Regions from separate parts of the Homo sapiens genome. Here regions 2, 3 and 4 are each linked to region 1. The links are contacts of gene promoters, found by promoter capture Hi-C in blood cells and fetal thymus (Javierre and others, 2016). All regions are on one chromosome and are shown on one strand. Each heading gives the region's core, a stretch centred on a gene start or on the middle of the fragment in contact. The rest is flanking DNA. Distances are from core to core; before and after follow the strand shown. Region 1 holds the start of ST8SIA6-AS1 (ST8SIA6 antisense RNA 1). Region 2 overlaps CUBN (cubilin). Region 3 overlaps CACNB2 (calcium voltage-gated channel auxiliary subunit beta 2). Region 4 overlaps LOC105376435 (a long non-coding RNA gene).

Region 1 (2,700 bases), core at 93-2,592:
CTGCTTAAAGTTAATGGAATCCAGGATCCAGGAGGCAGGACTGCCTGGAGAATGGCTCAAAGGCTGTGGAACTCCCTGGGTCTAAAAGAGAAACCGTTTAACAATTTAAAGTTTCCTGCTGTGTGAGGAAGCCCACTGACCTCACCTAGAAACCTCACCTACGATCCTGGGCCATGTGCAGTGTGGGAAGACAGGACTGGGGTGTCCACCCTTGATGTCCCAAGCCTGTCTCTGCTTTGTCTGAGTCTGTTGACATAACCAGAAATTATGTTTTACCAGCTATCTGGGCATGCCTGAGCCCAGTCAGGTCGACACAGAAAATGAACCATTGAAAGCCTTAAACCACACACAGCACAGCTGTCCTAGACGGCCCTCCAGATATACAGTGGGCATTTCATGGGCAAGAAACAAACCTTTGTTTTGTAAAGCAATTGAGAGCTTGGCGTTGTTATCATATCATAGTCTATTCTATCCTGACAAGTAAAAGGAGTTGCAATCTCTCTCCTAGAGTTCAGCAGAAATCTCTTAACTTTTTCACTTCACCTCTAGCCCCATTTCCCCTCATTTCTCTGCAGATCTTTGAAATTATTAGGAAAGCTTGATACTGGCTAAGATCTCTGATTTGGGTTAATCGATGTGACAGCAGTCCAGTCCTGTATGTTAGCTCCGTTTCTCACAGAAGGATAGCCCTATGAAAATCCTAGTTTTCTGGGCCCGGCGCGGTGGCTCACACCTGTAATCCTAGCACTTTGGGAGGCTGAGGCGGGCAGATCACCCGAGGTGGGGAGTTCGAGACCAGCCAGACCAACATGGAGAACCCCCCCCCCCCCGCCCCACCGCCCCGACTAAAAACACAAAATGAGCTGGGTGTGGTGGCGCATGCCTGTAATCCCAGCTACTCGGGAGACTGAGGCTGGAGAATCTCTTGAACCCGGGAGGCAGAGGTTGTGGTGAGCCAAGATCACGCCACTGCACTCCAGCCCGGGTGACGAGAGCGAAACTCCGTCTCAAAAAAAAAAAAAAATTATTGTTTTCTTTTCCTTAAATTCCAACTAGCGGGCCTTAAGCTTGCAAGGGGAATCCACGGTGCTGTGCGTCTTCCACTGGGCCCACTCAATCCACTTTCACCCTCATAGCTTTTCACCCTCCAGTTTCATCTCTGCCTGACTTTTCCCAGGGAGGCTGACGTACGTGGAACTCACCAATAGGTTCTGGGCTCTTTTGCCATCCGGCTTTTCTTTGGAGCAAGGAGGAGCATGAAAAAGAGATCAGAAAGAGGGAGGTGAAAGACCATCCCCAGGGCCTAGAAGCTGGCGGAGGCCTGAATAACTCCTCCCTTCTCAGGCCCAGTCCCAAGGCGCAAGGCGGCTTACGTCATCAGCGTGCGTCAGCAAGATAGCAGAAGCGGGGAGAGAGCTGTTCTGAAGACCCAGAGAGAGGCCTACCGGGTATCACGTAGCAGTAGATACACAGACTGAAACACTTCCTGTTTACGGGAGACTGTAAAACCCCTGCCCGTCCTCATTTGGGGCTGATGCCATTTTAGGCCTCGGCCTGAAATGGCCTGAAGGTCTGCCTTCAGGCATTCATTAAAACTGCCTGTTGCTCCACACTGCCTTGTGTTGTTTGTTGGCGTTCTCTCAGGGTTCGAACCAATACAAGAGCCTTGCAGGAGGAAGGAGAAGAAACTCTGTGTTTGATGTCGTTGCAGGTTAACTACATGCTTTTCTTTCTTTTTTCTTGGAGACAGTCTCACCGTCACCCAGGCTGGAGTGCAGTGGTGCGATGTCGACTCACTGCAACCTCCACCTCCCGGGTTCAAGTGATTCTCCTGCCTCAGTCTCCCCAGTAGCTGGGACTACAGGCGCGTGCCACCACGCCCGGCTAATTTTTGTGTTATTAGTAGAGGCAGGGTTTCACCATATTGGCCAGGCTCCTGACCTTGTGATCGAGCTCCTGACCTTGTGATCGAGCTCCTGACCTTGTGATCGAACTCCTGACCTTGTGATCTGCCCGACTCAGCCTCCCAAAGTGCTGGGATTACAGGTGCGAGCCACCGCGCCCGGCCTGTGTGTATGTGTGTGTGTGTGTGTGTGTGTGTGACAGTCTCACTCCGTCGCCGAGACTGGAGTGCAGTGGCACGAACACAGCTCACTGCAGCCTTGACCTGCTGTATTCAAGCGATCCTCCTGCCTCAGCTTCCTGAATAGCCAGGAAGACAGGTGCGTGCCACCATGGCTGGCTAATTTCTATTTTTTGTAGAGATGGGGTCTTTCTTTGTTGCCCAGGTTGGTCTCAAAACCCTGGGTGCAAGTGATCCTCCTGCCTTGGCCTCCCAAAGTGTTGTGTTTACAGGCACTTGAACCCAGAAAATCTGAGACAGGTCTCAGTTAATTTAGAAAGTTTATTTTGCCAAGGTTGAGAATGCGCCCGTGACACAGCCTCAGGAAGTCCTGACAACATTTCCCCTAAGTAGCTGGGGCACAGCCTGGTTTTATACATTTTAGGGAGGTATGAGACCTCTGTCAGGCTTCTGAGCCCAAGCCTGCACTTATACATCCAGATGGCCTGAGGCAACTGAAGAACCACAAAAAGAAGTGAAAATAGCCAGTTCCTACCTTTACTGATGACATTACCTTGTGACATTCCTTCTCCTGGACAATATGTCTCCAGCTCTCCCCACCAAGCACCTTGTGACCC
Region 2 (2,700 bases), core at 128-2,627, 520 kb after region 1:
AAATGTGCCTGCTTGTCTCCCCCCTGTGCTCCAATGCTATATGAATAATTGATCCTGAATGGCTGACAACCAGCAAAATGATCACACTGGGCTGCAGCAATCTGTGAAACTCTGAAATAATCTGCAAATCGGAGCATTTTTCCTAACCGAGTTCATAGTTTGCATCAGATTGTCAATGGCTTCTATGCTCCTATAAAGTTTAAAAAGCTGTTGGTTCTGTGGATTTGGCTAAGTGGGCATGGCCTATAGGCAGAACGGATGCTTTTAAGTACCTTCTGTCCTGTTAACTTCTGCTAGTTTAGTTGCTGCCCCTTCCTTTACCAGCAGGGTCGTCTCCTGCCTTGACTCTGTTTATGTGTGTCCTGTACAAATCACTTCACACTTGCAAACGTATTTTTAACCATCAGAGCCTCCAGTTCTTCCTGAGGGGGTCTCATACCAGAGAGTTGCTTGGCCTATTCACAATATGCATGTCACACTACACATCAAACTTCTACACATAGGGTTAGATCAGGGGCTTTCAGTAAACTTATTTATTTACTGTGCAGTAGCATCATTGTTTCATTTTTTTTTTCTAAAATGATGTATTCTATAACACTTCAGCAAAACTTCAGTGTAGAAAATGGAACTTGGCTCTATTAGATGGGAGGTCTGCAGGCATTTCAATTAGTGAGTTGCCAAGGAGAGACTGAGGGGTGTCCCCTGCAAGACAGCAGGGGGACAGACAGCACAGGAAGACAGATGGGGAAGACGCACCCTCAGGGACAAGTGGTGGCAGTGCCTGTGTTTCTGGAGTTGGTTCCTTCTGGTGGGTTTGTGGTCTCACTGACTTCAAGAATGAAGCCATGGACCTTCGTGGTGAGTGTTACAGCTCTTAAAATTGGCATGGACCCAAAGAGTGAGCGGTAGCAGGGTTTATTGTAAAGAGCAAAAAAACAAAACTTCCGCAGCGTGGAAGGGTACCCGAGCAGGTTGCGGCTGCTGGCTGGGGTGGCCAGCTTTTATTCCCTTATTGCCCCCTCCCATGTTCCATTTTTGTCCTATCAGAGTGCCCTTTTTTCAATCCTCCCTGTGATTGGGTACTTTTAGGATCCTGCTGATTGGTGCATTTTACAGAGCGTTGATTGGTGCATTTTACAATCCTCTTGCTAGCTACAGAGCGCTGATTGGTGCATTTTACAATCCTCTTGTAAGACAGAAAAGTTCTCCAAGTCCCCACTTGACCCAGGAAGTCCAACTGGCTTCACCTCTCACCTGGACTCAAAGCTCCCAGCCAGCCCCTGTTGCCCAGAGCACACATGCTGATGACGAGGGCCACTGTCTGCCTTCCTCCACCTGGGGTATTTGTCACATGGAGACTGAGTCAGGTTGCATTAAGGTCAGTTCAGAGACCTTTGCTAAGAGACCAAGGCAAAAATACCCAAGCACATATATAACAAGGACAGAATGAATTACAGTCCAACAAATGTATAAATATGTTCAGGTAGGCTGGGCACGGTGGCTCACGCCTGTAATACTGGCACTTTAGGAGGCTGAGGCAGGCAGATCACTTGAGGTCAGGAGTCCAAGACCAGCCTGGCCTACATGGTGAAACCCCGTCTCTACTAAAAATACAAAAAATTAGCCAGGCATGGTGGTGCATGCTTACAAACCCAGCTACTTGGGAGGCTGAGGCAGGAGAATCACTTGAACCCAGGAGGCAGAGGTTGCAGTGACCCAGTGACCCAAGATAGCACCATTGCACTCCAGCCTGGGCAACAAGAGCAAAACTCCGTCCCAAAAAAAAAAAAAAAAAAAAAAAAAAAAAGCTGGGCATGGTGGCTCACGCCTGTAATCTCAGCACTTTGGGAGGCCGAGGTGTGTGAATCACCTGAGGTCGGGAGTTCGAGGCCAGCTTGACCAACATGGAGAAACCCTGTCTCTACTAAAAATACAAAATTAGTCAGGCATGGTGGCACATGCCTGTAATCCCAGCTACTCGGGAGGCTGAGGCAGGAGAATCGCTTGAACCTGGGAGGTGAAGGTTGTGGTGAGCCAAGATTGTGCCCAGCCTGAGGAACAAGAGCAAAAAAATCCATCTAAAAAAAAAAAAAAAAAAGAAAGAAAAAAAGACATATGGCCAGATGGAAAGAGCTGATTGATGCATGATATCATTGCTTGGTGATACGGCTTTAGAAAAGCCCTATAACGTTTTGAATCTCAATTTTTATCTACTAAAAAACTGATCAATTTGAAATATTACAACTATTTAAGAATGTGATGGGGATAAAGCAGATAATTTCTGGAAAGCACCTTAGCTGTCAGAGTGAAAGACTCTATGTATTAGAAAGTAATATTGAAGTCCCAAATTTTCAAGCCCCCCGCCCAACCCTATTTCCAAGGTTGGAGGGTGGCTGAGGGTGGGGTGGGCAGGGATCAACATTCTCAACAGGACCACATCATGCTACAGTGATTTTTCGTTCTTTCCTACCCACTTTGCAGTGACACCTAACCGTCAAATCCTAAAGTACATTTTATAACCTAAATCTGAAATCAAAAGCTACATTCTGATTAAATCCCCAGGCCTTGCACAATTGTTACTCCATCGATATTGTCCATATGAGTGATTTACAGAATAAATGGATAAATTGTGCCTACTTCAAAATCATATTTTATAATGAGATATAATAATATACCATATAGAACACATTAGATTTTATC
Region 3 (2,700 bases), core at 181-2,680, 840 kb before region 1:
GCCTGCCTGTGGTGTCACGAATCCTGGTTCAGTCCTGGACCCAGGCCATATTTCTTAAACCCTCAGTTTCTTACATTGTAAAATGGGGCATCTAATATTTATCATGAAAGGCTGTTGTAATATTTTGAGGTGACCTACGAAAAGTTTGCATCAAGTAGGGACTTAATAAACTGGAAGTGAGTGGTGTGGTTTTTAAGCTGCTTAGCCCTGTCTCTCCAGGCTTTACCCTCCCCCATCCCCCATCCTCTGCCAGGGATTTTGTAATATCTGATATTAAAAAGGTTCTGCCGACTCCTCCCAGCTCAACAGAACATGGAAAAATACAATAGATCACTTTAAAAAAAAAAAGCTTATTATGTGCAGCCAAAAGCCTGAGAAACAGCAGGTCACATAAAATGAAGGAAATGAAATGTCCATGCTAAGTAATTATGTAGCCTTGGCCTTGAGCAAACAGAGGGCTGGCTGACATCAGAAAAGAACAAGGGCCATAGAGAGCGAAACACGCGGACACCTTGGTGTCCACACTAGGCTCATCCTGAAAAAGGGAGTGGAAATTGACAGGCTGAGGTATAGATGAATGTGCCTGTCAGGATGTAGCAGGGAGGAGGCGGAGCTTAGGCCACCTTAAGGGAGGACTGAGGCCCTTTAACCTGTTTCTGCTCCTGCAATCTGGAGATGGCATGACTTCGATTTGGCTCGGCAGGCCGTAAAAGCCCGCAGTAAAGTTATTACCTTGAAAGAGTGATTCTATATTGGACTGAACTCCCACAAACGCTGGGCTGGTCATGGTTGTGGGACGTAGGCCTTCTGTTCCCAAGCATAACCTCCTACTCTCTGACACAGGAGACTAGGGGGCCCAGGTTCTCATCCAGGTTCTATCAGAACGAGCTTCTTAACCTGATCCAAGTTGCTAACTAACTTGGGGTAAAATGAGAATATGAGCATCTGTCCCAACCCTTCGTGGGTTAGAGAAAGAAATTCTTTGGAAAGTATAAAGTAGCTACAAAATGAGGAACTTTAAGGAGCCGGGTAATTTTCTTCAATAAAATGGATTTCCTTTAATTTTGTATGAAACTCACTTCCCAAAATCGATTTCATATCAGCTGAGCTTTGAGACTACAAAGAAATTGGAATTTTTTTTTTTTTGAAGGGAGAAGTTGAAAGAGGGAGGGAAGAGGAGGGAGAAGGCACACGGAAGGTAGGTCTTAATCATATTTAAGCCTGATAAAAAGGAGTTAGAAAGTTTGCTGTGTTTAAAGCAGTTGTTCATAGTCCTAGAAACCATTCTAGCCAAAAAAGACAAGAAACAGCAGAGACTTTCGCTAAGAGGTTTAGGAAAAGCAAACATTGCAAAAGAGTAATATTTTATTTTATATCTAATTTGTCCTTATTACTCATCTCTAGGGCCACCTAAAAGCAGTCCTTATCAAACTAAACCTCATTAATTCTAGATATGAAAATGAGTCCACTTTTCCCAGGACAAAAAAAAAAAATAGACCCCTTAGTTTAAGATGCAGTGATATGTTAGTAGAAGGGGTAGGCTGCCTATTATCTATTTTTCTGTACATATTTCACTAGATGGAAGAGTTCCCATTTTCTAAGAGCCTAGCAGTTTCTGTTTTATTGGGGGGAAAAGCAACACAAAGGGAAAATTTAAAAATAAAATTTCTGCAATAGGATTCTGTCTCTGAAATTGAAGACAAAAATTCTCCTTAATATTATTACAGCTTTATTTTTAAAAACTAAAAAGGAAATTAAAATATTAATAGTGGTTGTATCTGGTGATGAAAGAAAAAGACTGTAGTACTTTTAAATGTTTTGTTAGTTACCATATAATAGTTTATACTGAAAAATTTCATTTTTAAATAAAGAAAAAAATGTTTCCTAATGTAAAAAGAAGGGAACATAGGAGCATTCTGTTTTATGTGCTTTTCTGCATAAGTATTAAAAACTACTACATTTTTACTATAACGATTGCTCCTGAAAATCGTGTAAAATACATTAAATAATCAATAATTATTCATGGAACAAGAGGAATGTATTAGTAGTGTAATACTCTTTTGCTTTCACAAAAATTAAATATGCTAAATGAAATTTCATTTATTCATTCAACAAACATTGGCTGGATGTATATTACTGACTAGCCTCTTTAATGACATTCTCTTCTGCAGTGCTGTGGAGTTGTAATTATTTATGCCAATTATTAATATTCAGTATTACATATATAGAAGGTGTTGGATATATGATTTAATAGTTCATATTTGAAGACCAGATATGTAGGGATTAAGCAAAAGGCATCAAAATCAAACAAATCTTTCTGAAGCAAAATTAGCAATGCTCAAAATCCTATTTAAATGGCTCATCTGTGTGTGTGTCATGCCCATAAATATGCCCATGACTGACAGCAAACCAGAAAGCCTTCTGGAGTTGTGTCAGATGGGATTTTTGAGTCATTTATGTAACACACAGAACACTCAAAGCAACAAAGTTAACAAAGGAATGAAAGCTTACTTTTGAGGCAAGTTTCACATCTTTTATTTTTCTTTTTGAGATGGAGTCTCACTCTGTCGCCCAGGCTGGAGTGCAATGGCGCAATCTCAGCTCACTGCAACCTCCGCCTCCTGGGTTCAAGAAATTCTCCTGCCTCAGCCTCCCAAGTAGCTGGGATTACAGGCGTCCACCACCACGCCCAACTGCTTT
Region 4 (2,700 bases), core at 146-2,645, 570 kb after region 1:
ATCTCTAGCAAGTGGATGCCTCACAGCCTGCTTGAATTCCTCTCCTGAAAAAGCTTTTTCTTTCTCTGCCATATGGCCAGGCTGTAAATTTTCCAAATTTTTACACTCTGCTTTCCTTTTTAATATAAGTTCCAATTCGAAGTCATTTCTTTGCTCCCACATCTGAGCACATGCTATTAGAAGCAGCCAGCCCAAATCTTGAACACTTTGCTGCTTAGAAATTTTTTCCACCAGATACCCCAGGTTGCCACTCTTTAGTTCAAACTTCCACAGATCCCTAGGGCATGGACAGAATGCAGCCAAGTTCTTTGCTAAGGCATAATATGTGTCACCTTTGCTCCAGTTCCCACTAAGTTCCTCATTACCATCGAAGACCTTGGCAGCCTGGACTTCATTATCCATATCACTATCAGAATTTTAGTTGCAACTTTTAAACAGTCTCTAAGAAGTTCCAAATTTTCCCTCATCTTTATGTCTTCTGAGCCTTCCAAACTCTTCCAACCTCTACCCATTATCTTGTTCCAAAGTCAGTTCCACATTTTCAGGTATCTTTATAACAAAACCCCACTCCTGGTACCAATTTTCTGTAATAGATCATTCTTGCATTGCTATAAAGAAATACCCGAGACTGGGTAACTTATAAAGAAAAGAGGTTTAATCTGCTCACAGCTCTGCAGGCTTTATAGGAAACATGGTGCTGACATCTGCTTGGCTTCTGGGGCAGCCTCAGGAAGCTTATAATCATGGAGGAAGGCGAAGGGGAAACAGGCATGTCACACGGTGAAAGCAGGAGCAAGACAGCGAGAGTATGGGACAGGTGCCACACACTTTTAAGTGGCCAGCTCTCATGTGAACTCAGAGCAAGAGCTCACTTATCACCAAGGGTATGGCCCAAGCCATTCATGAGGGATCTACCCCCACGATCTAAACACCTCCCACCAGGCCGATCTCCAACACTGGCTTTTATAACTCAACATGAGATTTGAGCAGGGACAAATATCCAAACTCTATTATGTATTTACGCTCAGGAGTACAAAGTTTCCATAAGCACCACCATTGCCTATTCCTTAACACAATATGTTAAGTTATAAATAAACAATATGGTTTGCCACTTAACAAGAAGTAGAAAGTTCAGTAGCACATCCTTATCTCCAATGCTGCCAGACATGTAACTAAGTGAGGTAGTTATTAGCTTCCTTTTCATAAGAAAATTCAATGCTTTTATAAAGTTTTTCAGTGCCTCTAGAAAAGCGGAAGCCTTTACAAAGGAGATTTGCTTTATGTTAATTATGCAAAATCAAGGGTTATTAACAAAAGACCATGTGAATGAGAGAAGCTGAGGAATGTAACTTCATCTTACTCTAATACTCAAATGGCAGATAATTATTTCTGGACAGAGTATGGAGCCACAGAAATAAAATACTCTAACCTTGAAAATTCAGCTACTCAGGAGGCTGAGGCTGGACAATCACTTGAACCTAGGAGGCGGAGGTTTCAGTGAGCCAACATCGCGCCACTTCACTCCAGTGTGGGTTACAGAATGAGACTCCATCTCAAAAAAACAAACAACAACAACAACAATTCCTGCTCCCTTTTTGTATTATGGATAGACATATCAACTTTATGGGTGACAATTACATTGGAAAGGACAGTGAATGCGATAAGTAACACCATCAAATCCAAAAGGTCTTGATAAGCTACAACAATGGGCCAATTGTAACAGACGAAATGTGACAGATATAAGATCTTCCTCTTTTATCAAAAAATGAATTGCAAAAGTACAGAATACAGGGAAAGTTTAACAATAACATGAAATGACATAGTACTTTTCTGAAAGAAAGATTAACATGATGTCACTGTCAAAAAAATGATGCTTAGAGCATGGACTGCATCATTAGAGTAACGGTATCATTTCCACTCAGAAGGGCATGCTTTTCTAGGAGGCATATTGGAATATCTGGGAAGTGTGTACCTGAAATTGAGGAAAGCATAGTCAATATTATTATGTAATTTTAAAATTAAAAATACAGAAAAAAAGAGACAAAATGAAGCTTTACAAAATCTTCCAGGCTGGGCATCTAGGAAATAAGCAGTGATTTTTTAGTGGGTTAGGGATGGTCAGGCTTGGGAGCATGACATTTTCGTGTATAGCCAAGGGAAGTAGTTATTGAGTAATTCAGTTTTTGAGTAATTCAGCTGGAAGAAGGAGAAAAGAGTCAACTGTACTCTCATTCGTAAGACCCACCGTATATCCTCTGGTTCTGCTTTACATTTAATTCACTTGTTTCCAAATGTTTATTGAGCATCAGCTATGTGATACGTACTCAGCGCACTGAGGATAAAGCAGAGAACAAGACAGCCATACAAGACTATCAGCTGATGTCTCCCAGCTTCACAAAGCACACTTCCCAGCTCCATCTTGCTTGATTTCCTGAGCCAGTCCTGAGGCAAAAACCTTAATATTCTTATCTGGTGAAACATACATTGAGCCAACTTCCCAGATCTAGTGGCCAAGGGATAAGTTTCCTGATTCCAAATTGTGTCACCATGAAGTTTCACTGCTAGCAATCAGGACCCTGGACAGGCTAACCATCATCCTAGCAAATTAATCAAACCTGAGAAGGGGGTGTGGGAACCCTGATTTATAGCTGGTCAGTCAGAAGTGTAGGTGACAGTCAACCTAAAGTCTTGTGGAAATGA

What was found. Contacts are between HindIII fragments. The CHiCAGO score rates a contact against its expected background, and 5 or more counts as called.
Region 2: a fragment that was not itself captured here is called in contact with the fragment with the promoter of ST8SIA6-AS1 in region 1 in 6 of 17 cell types (M1 macrophages, total CD4 T cells, naive B cells and 3 more); the score reaches 7.1 in M1 macrophages.
Region 3: a contact is called between a fragment that was not itself captured here and the fragment with the promoter of ST8SIA6-AS1 in region 1, in 1 of 17 cell types (M2 macrophages). The highest score is 5.8, in M2 macrophages.
Region 4: a fragment that was not itself captured here is called in contact with the fragment with the promoter of ST8SIA6-AS1 in region 1 in 2 of 17 cell types (M2 macrophages and M1 macrophages); the score reaches 5.7 in M2 macrophages.

Annotation. Positions count from the first base shown.
Region 1 is chr10:17,385,578-17,388,277 of GRCh38, reverse strand. ST8SIA6-AS1 (ST8SIA6 antisense RNA 1) reads right to left here and starts at 1,342. Exons shown (of 3, transcript NR_034129.1): 1 at 1,203-1,342. The region is part of intron 3 of ST8SIA6 (ST8 alpha-N-acetyl-neuraminide alpha-2,8-sialyltransferase 6); the gene reads left to right. The HindIII fragment of the contact is 1,777 bases long and covers 1,070-2,700 here.
Region 2 is chr10:16,864,056-16,866,755 of GRCh38, reverse strand. All of the region lies in intron 59 of CUBN (cubilin), which reads left to right. Among named protein-coding and RNA genes, the nearest start is that of RSU1, 48 kb to the right of the region's middle. The HindIII fragment of the contact is 4,192 bases long and covers 1-2,700 here.
Region 3 is chr10:18,222,785-18,225,484 of GRCh38, reverse strand. The region is part of intron 2 of CACNB2 (calcium voltage-gated channel auxiliary subunit beta 2); the gene reads right to left. Among named protein-coding and RNA genes, the nearest start is that of CACNB2-AS2, 37 kb to the left of the region's middle. The HindIII fragment of the contact is 2,157 bases long and covers 352-2,508 here.
Region 4 is chr10:16,820,100-16,822,799 of GRCh38, reverse strand. LOC105376435 (a long non-coding RNA gene) reads right to left here. Exons shown (of 3, transcript XR_930708.3): 3 at 1,543-1,972. Among named protein-coding and RNA genes, the nearest start is that of RSU1, 4.0 kb to the right of the region's middle. The HindIII fragment of the contact is 1,317 bases long and covers 737-2,053 here.